2 separate regions of the Homo sapiens genome follow, and region 2 is linked to region 1. Evidence: promoter capture Hi-C in 16 types of primary human blood cells and fetal thymus (Javierre and others, 2016). All regions are on one chromosome and are shown on one strand. Each heading gives the region's core, a stretch centred on a gene start or on the middle of the fragment in contact. The rest is flanking DNA. Distances are from core to core; before and after follow the strand shown. Region 1 holds the start of NTNG1 (netrin G1). Region 2 overlaps VAV3 (vav guanine nucleotide exchange factor 3).

Region 1 (3,843 bases), core at 1,037-3,536:
TCCTAAAAAGGCTAACCTGAATCATTTTAACACATATACCCATTGAAAACTGACAAAACAAAAATATTAACAGGAAACCAGCTTTATGTTCAAATAAACTGTTTCCATGCAAAAGTTTTAAGATTATCCGTCTTAAATTCCACAGTAAGGAAATACCACCAAATTAGTAGTGCAGTATATAGAATCCTGAATGCCTTCATGGTGGTCTTCAGTGGGTGAAATATATCTCATTTCACGGCATCCAGAAAAGAAAATATATCCCTGGAACAACATTACATGTGAAATACTTGATGCACATTTTTCCTTGCATGTTGATCCACATGCAGAGATCCAAATTTTATCTTAATGAAAAATCGAAAGTTGCTTATCTTCAAAAAGAATCTTGGACAGTTACTGAGCTGCTTTTCCTTTGCCAAAGAGAAAGGGAGGCGGGTAAGGCATTCAAAGTGACACAGTTCAAAATACTTAATGAAATGTGGAATTGCTAATTCCCTCACTAGAGATCCTCCTCAAGGGACAAACAAAACAGAAAAGCCTCCCCTGAAAAAAAAAAAAATTATTTTTTGGAAAACTTTCCAACAAGCTTAACTACTAAGCATATCTGAATAAGTGATTTTAATGGAAGATCTTCCTGGGTTTTTTTTTTTTTCATTTCTGTAAGATAAAACAACTTTTAGTATTTTCAGTCATAAAACAGGGCCTTATTTCTAGAGCAATTCTACTGCCAGATTCACCATATGTTTAGTGGAGTTCTGAATCTTACTCAGAATTTTCCATTCCAAAGATTGACAATTTGTTATGAGGAGTGGCTCCATTATTCCCTGTATAAAGAGAAGAATGGGTGAGAGAGGAGGACCGTCTACTCACTGGAAATCTGTACCTGATGCAACTATAGGAGCTCAACCTGCGACTTTTCCAAGTAAAGTTGCTTTAAAATCCCCGCTAGGAATTTTCTTCCCTTGCCCTGTAAGATGACAGCCTACTCTTAAGTGGATTTCTGAAGGAAAAAAAAAAAAAGTCCCCGGGTGAGGGTACTAAAATTAACAGCAGAGGGCGCAGTTTCTTTTTATATCTAAGTTTTTCCTTGTATGAATCACTTAATTGGTTATTTTAGGCCCAATAATATTCAGTATTATTTGTATTATATATAGATATCCACAGATCCATACAGGAGTGCAATTCAGTGTCCCTAGCCGAATCCATCAACCGATTAATATGATGCCAGTAAAGAATATGAGAGAATATTCCAAACAGCATCCCTACACCAAGTCTTCCTCTTTCAATTTCCCTTTCTCCCCAGCTGCACAACATGGGATAGTAATGTTTTAATCTAGCACCAATAAAGGCGATTAAAAGAAGGGACTTCAAAAGCTCTCGATGTGGCCACCAGATCCCCAAGGCCGGCAATAGGGCAAGTGTTTTTTTGTTTTTTTTGTTTGCTTTTCCCCAAACAAATATAATTGGCGAAAGAAAGAAAAAATAACGACAAGCCGCCTGAGCGATGTGTGTGGCCAGGTGTGCGTGAGAGAGGGAGAGCGCGGGGCCCCTGTCAGTCGGCGGATGGAGGCTCAGACCCCACGCCTGGGCTCCGGACACAACAAGAGGACGCATCACCGGCCCGGGGCGCACCCCCGGGAAGACTTGTGTGTGGGTGTGAGCGTGTGCCGCTGTGTGTGCGCGTAGGGCTCCGCGCGCTGCCTCCTCGGGGCGCTTTACAAAGTTCCTCGCCCACCCGGAGCCTTCCCTCCCGCCTGTGCATCGCAGCGGGTGGGGCGGGGGGCGGCGGGGGGTGGGGAAACCCGGGGGAGAGGGGCACGGGCGAGAGGCTCGGGTCGCAGTAGGAGAGGCGAGCCGCAGGCACTTACCGTGTGGCTCGTTTGCCCTTGCGCCGGGCGGGAGCCGAGCCGACGGCGCGGGGCGGCGGCCCTGCGCAGCCAGCCTGGTCCGCCTCGGGCGGCGGCCGCAGCAGCGGAGCCCGCGGGCGGCGTACGGGCGGAGGGCGGCAGCTCCCGCGGAGCCTCCTCCCCAGGCGGGAGCGGGCGGAGCGGGAGGGGTGGGCGTGAGGACCCGAGCCGCCGCCACCGCCGCAGCCCGGGGATTCCGATCGCGCCCGGCCGCCGGCGGGAGAGGACCCCGAGGACCGAGAACCCAGCGCCGGCCCGCCACTCCCCGCCGCTTAATTACCTTCGCCTCCGCCCCCGGGGGGAGCCTCCTGCAAGTCGCCCCCTCTCGGAGCCCGCACCCAGAGGGGGAATTCCTTCCCGTTGACGTCCTCTTCCGAAATGCAAAAGATCAGTGACTTTGACAGGTAGATGAGGGGGAGGGAGTAAGGGTGGGCGGAGAGGAAGAGAGGATGAGAAAGGTGCCTCTCCCTCCAAAAATATAGTGATATTAATAATGAGATCTCAGCCTTCGGAGGTCGTGCCAGCCCAGTCCCCTGCTCGCCGGCTCTCCTCCGCGCCTCCTCGCTCCGCTGCCTCTGACACTTCTCGCCTTAAACTTTTACTGAGGGATATTTTTTCTTTTTTCTATTTCTATTTCTTTTTTTTTTCCTCTTTTTTTTTTTTTCAAGCCGCAGGACGATTTTCTGGTTCCCGGGGATCAGAACCAGCGGCCAGGCGGTTCTATGCCGCTTGGCACCGCTTTCATTTTATTTCAGATGAAGACGTTGAGCTTAGTCAGAAGGGGCATAAATCAGGACAATTAGCATTGGCGCCAAGAAGATCCTCTAATACCAATTTCGCCCGGGTTTCCTTCGCGCATTCCTCCACTCAAGTCAGAAATGTCACTGCACATAGCACTGATGGCAGTGAGACGCGACGCACCCAAAGTCCGTTTGATGAAATATACATGGCCCACGACGCTTCTGGATTGCGGCTCCCGGACTCCCCGCCCCCACCAGCGGCTCCCGGCCGGGACCCTGCTCCGAGCGGGCAGCGAGCTCCTGGCAAACTTAGGGGCCAGTGCCAATTAAAGAGTGAGCGCGAGAGCCGGAAAGAGGAGCGGCAAAGAAGCAAGCCCGGGGAAGCCGCAGCCCTCGGAGGGGTGGCATGTACGTTTCACTTAAAAAGCAGATCTTCTTCTGCAACTGCCAGCAAGTGGAAGGATAGCAAACCTTATACTACCTCGAGACCTGTGCGCTCCGAGCGGTCCTAACTCCGTCCCGCTCGCTGTTGCTGTTGCTGGTGCTGCTCCGGCTGCAGCTGCTGCCGCTCCACGACCTCGGGGCGCTGAGGCAACAGGGCCCCCTCCCTCTACTCCCCATCCCCCCCGGCTCCTCCACAGAAGCGCCGTTTCCAGTAACTCCTCGTGTACCTCCCACTTCTGCCGCCGTCCATCCCACCCCTCTCTCTTCTGTCCCCTCCCCAAACCGTTCCCAAGCACACCCTTCGCCGCTGGAAGTGATCACAATGTTGTTTTTCAACAAGCACTTCCTTTGCCCGGAGGCCCCTACAGCCCTAGACTGGAAACTCCTCCTTTAGAAATTCATTCCCCTTTAAAAAGTTGAAGTTCAAGGGAGAGCTGCGCATTTCAGGCTTCCTTGCCTTTTCTAAGAGAAAGACAAATGCTCCGATGCTCCAGGCTTCATTCCCCACCAAGGCGGGCTCAGACTCACCTGGGATCACTCTTAGCTACACATTAACGTCAAACAGAAACAAATCCGAATTTAGATAAGATAGGGAGACTTCCATTAGAAAGAAAGACTATTGCAACAGGGAAAACGCTCTGATCTCAGAAATCTGCAAACCTCTCAAAACCAAACAGAAATCGGCCTTTTTTTTCTATATATATAAGGGGGAGCAAGCAATAGGCAAAGCCAAGTGGATGGGGGAAACAACTCAC
Region 2 (4,233 bases), core at 80-2,579, 610 kb before region 1:
CTGGAAACTACCAATCTACTTTCTATCTCTGTAAGCTTAACTACTCTGGGCACCTTATATAAGTGAAATCATACAATATTTGCCATTTCATGACTGGCTTTTTTTACTTAGCATAATGTCTTCAAAGTTCATCCTTGTAGTAGTCATGTGTCAACATTTTATTTTTTTGATTTCCATTTGTTTAAAGCTGAATAATACATCATTTTATATAAATACCTCACTGTTTTTCATTGATGAACATTTGGGTTGCTTCCTTCTTTCAGCTATTGTGAATAATACTGTTATATTATTATTGTCACAGGTGTACCAATATCTATTCAAGTGCCTGCTTTCACTTCTTTTAGTTATATACTTGGAAGTGGAATTCTGGGTTGTATGGTCATTATGTTAATTTATTGAAGAATTGCTATACCATTTTCCACAGCAGCTGCCCCACTTAACTTTCCTACTACCAATGCACAAGGGTTTCAGTTTTTCCACATCCTTACCAACACTCACTATTCGGTTTGTTTGGGTAACAGCCATCTTAATGGTTTTAAAGCAATATCTCATCGTGGGTTTGATTTGCATTTTCTTAATGACTAATGATGTTGAATATTGTCTTTGTGTGTTTGCTGGCCATTTGTATATTCTCTTTGGAAAAATGCCTATTCAAATGCTTTGCCCATTTTTGAATCAAGTTGTTTTTTGTCTTTGTGTTGTAGAAGCTCTTTATTTGTATCCCAGATATCAATCCCTTATAAGACATATGGTTTGCAAATACTTTTCTTGTGTCTGTTGGCTTTTCACTCTGTTGATATTGTCTGTGAGGCACAAAAGTTTTTAATTTTGACAAAGTCCCATTTATCAATCTCGAAGAAATAATTGCTGAATCTATTGTCATAAAGTTTTTCCCCATTTTCTTGTAAAAGTTTTATAGTTTTAACTGTTATGTTTGGGTATTTGAAACATTTTTAGTTATTCTTTATTTATGGTGTAAGGTAATGAAGGGTCTACCTTTATTCTTTTACATGTGGATATCCAGTTTTCCCAGCACCATTTGTTGAAAAGGCTATTCTTTCCCTATTTAATGGTGTTAACCTTGTTGGAAATCATTTGACCATATATGTGAGGACTTATTTCTGGGCTCTCTACTATTCTGTTGGTCTATATACCTGTTTGTATGCCAGTGCCGCATGATTTTGATTATTGTGGCTTTGCAATAAGTTTTGGAAACAAGTCAGTAAGTATGAGACTTCCAGCTTTGTTCCTTTTCAAGATTGTTTTGACTATTCAGAATCCCTTGAGATTCCATAAGAATTTTAGAATGGAATTTTCTATTTGTGCAGAAAACATCACTGGGATTTTGATAAGATACATTTATTTTTATATTTATAGTGTTAATCACACATCTCTGCCCTTTATTAAAATGGAATTTCTGAACGTTAGTGATTTTCAGTCAATTCTTTTTTCCTCTAGCGTGTACAGTAAGTGTTCATAAACACTTAAAAATAATTTAGTTATCAGCCTCTGGGAAAATAGCTCATTATTTTAAATAATTAACTCAGAGCTTTTCGTCCTTGAGGTCCTAGCTCAAGAAAGCCAGCCTGGACTTTATAGACCAAATTAGCGCGCGCCCCCCCGCCCCTTTCTGTACTCCTTCATGGCAATTGTGCGTTTGTAATTGCATGCTTCTGTGAATATTTGTTCCTCCACTGCGCAGTGTGCTTCATGAGGGCAGTGTCTGTATCATTTTGCCGTACACCTGTTATGGTGGTTGGCACGTAGTAGATGCTCAAAAAATATTAATTGCCGAACCGTCTCGTAATTTGGACCCTTCCGGTTGAGTCTTTCTTTTCATAGCTAATTTCCCCTTTAAGAATATATACTAATTAAAATCAATTGATGTCCTTGACATACCCCCTGGGATTACAGAGGACAGACTTATTTGTCATGTAGACCTGAGCTTTTTAGAGTAAGTATGCTTTAAAAGTATAAAAAATGGTAACATTTTAATGTAATAAGGTAGTTGTCTTGAGTAAATATCTCTACTAATATTTGTTTTTATTTTCATGTGATTATGAAAAACTCTGACATGTGCATTTTATATTTTAGAACCAACCAGTTTTGCTTTTTGGACGACCTCAGGGAGATGGTGAAATTCGAATAACCACTCTAGACAAGCATACCAAACAAGAAAGGTAAGAAAAGAAGAATACTATTTTCAAAATAAGTAATTAGTGTCAGAAAACTGAGAAAACCTTAAAGACAATTTTTCCAGTGTGAAGTAGGGGGAAAAAAGGAAGAAATACAAGGAGACAGACCAACCCATGATTTCTAAATTTTTTAAATCTAGATTATCTTAGGTATTCCCACCTGGGTTCTGGTATCTATTAGTTTGTCTAAGTTATTAAGAAGGAAGTAACAAGTATAGATGATCAGCTAGGATACATTAAAATGAGAAGAGCGATAAAGTAAGAACAGATAACTACCATAAAAACATAATTGAATTTTTGGAATATATTTTTAAATAACCAAAAATAATAGAAAAATGCCCTAAGAAAGAAGATTAAGTGAGAATCACGTAGTAATATTTTCTTGAGGGAAATTTGCAGATGTAGTTCTTGAAGATTAGTAAGCTTGGCCCGGAGTCCTTAATTATGTATATATGTAATCATCAAACAGAGGTTTTTGTGGTTGACAATGATTGTTTTCTGGAATCTTTGGAGAAGCGAAAGCCAGTAGGGGGCAGCATCAGCTCTTGCTTCTTCCTCGATAACCCTGGCTCCATAGGTCCTTTAAACCTCTCTGGGAGAAATAGACGTTAAAAGTGATGCAAGTGTTACAGCCCTGTGAATGTGTCATTATCATTGTGTATAAAAAAAATGTGTGTTAATCACTGAGAGTTTATAAAAATACACAAGTATTGGTATTGGATGATGTGGTTATAAGGTTTATTTTCTCCCCCAAGTTACGTTGTTCTTAATAAGAAAAAAGAAATATTAACATGGAAATTTCACCATAACGTTTTCAGTTTACACTTGGCTCATATACCATTCAGTTTGGGTTTTTAGGTGGCCAATTAAATCATGAGGAACAATATAGAGGGTAAAAGCACAGTTTCCAAAATTAGACCTGTTTGTGAATCCTGTTACATGCCTCACTAGCAGTGTGATCTTGAGCAAATTATCTAACTTCTCTAAGCCTCAGTTTCCTCCTCAATAAAATGAAGATGGCAATGATACCTTCCCAGCATGTGGTCTTGGGGATTTAAATTGAGTCATGTTTGTGAAAGGGATGAACACTTCTCAAGGCATTCTGGCTGATTCCTAGTAACTTCAGTAGAAGCTGCTACGGATGTCATTAATATTATTCTATAGGTTTTTAGCTTTTAAATTAAAAAAGATAATTGCTCATGAACAAACTTTATGGCTTATCTCACTTGGCCCTTTCAACAACTCTGCAGTGTGCATTTTACTCTTACTATGATTTTTGCCCATTTTTAAAATGAGGGAACCAAAGCACACTGAGGCCATTTACAAGGTAAAGGGAAATTCCACACACAGTTCTTATAACCTCAAATACCCCGTTGTTTTCAGTGTATGATACTACCTGTTGTCTTTAATGCAAAGAAAAAAACATTTGGTTGCTTTATACCCAAAAAAATTAATAACCCATGTTTCTAAACCATTTAAAATCAATCAATCAATCTCTTTTTCCCAGGCATATCTTCTTATTTGATTTGGCAGTGATCGTATGTAAGAGAAAAGGTGATAACTATGAAATGAAGGAAATAATAGATCTTCAGCAGTACAAGATAGCCAATAATCCTACAACCGATAAAGAAAACAAAAAGGTGACTTTTTGGAAACTAATAACTGTAATTTACTTATAATCTTGAACATTAAGGAAAAGTATGATAATACATTAATGTGAGATATGGCTTATCAATCCAGATGTTTTTGTTTCTAGAGATTGATTAGGTACATAACTTTGTGAGAAATAACTGGATAATGCCACAGCCAGATCTGATCATTTCTAATGCCCTAATGATCCAGATAATAAAACGCATTTGGCATAGAAATTGTTATAGATATGAAGTTGACTACAATAAGCTTGATTGTTCAGTTTGTACATTGATAATATTGTGAGGAGTTTTTGGATAGTTGTGGTATTCTTGTGAATTTAGAAACATGTTATTAATGATACATATTAATCTAAGGAATATTAATTTTAACAGTGGTCTTATGGCTT

The links. Contacts are between HindIII fragments. The CHiCAGO score rates a contact against its expected background, and 5 or more counts as called.
Region 2: a contact is called between a fragment that was not itself captured here and the fragment with the promoter of NTNG1 in region 1, in 1 of 17 cell types (fetal thymus). The highest score is 11.5, in fetal thymus.

The regions. Positions count from the first base shown.
Region 1 is chr1:107,139,482-107,143,324 of GRCh38, reverse strand. It overlaps NTNG1 (netrin G1), which reads right to left and starts at 2,286. Exons shown (of 8, transcript NM_001113226.3): 1 at 2,185-2,286. RefSeq lists silencers at 1,592-1,871, 1,892-2,181 and an enhancer at 2,115-2,646. The HindIII fragment of the contact is 6,022 bases long and covers 586-3,843 here.
Region 2 is chr1:107,749,064-107,753,296 of GRCh38, reverse strand. It overlaps VAV3 (vav guanine nucleotide exchange factor 3), which reads left to right. Exons shown (of 27, transcript NM_006113.5): 13 at 2,095-2,180; 14 at 3,703-3,835; 15 at 4,220-4,233. Among named protein-coding and RNA genes, the nearest start is that of MIR7852, 150 kb to the left of the region's middle. The HindIII fragment of the contact is 2,583 bases long and covers 38-2,620 here.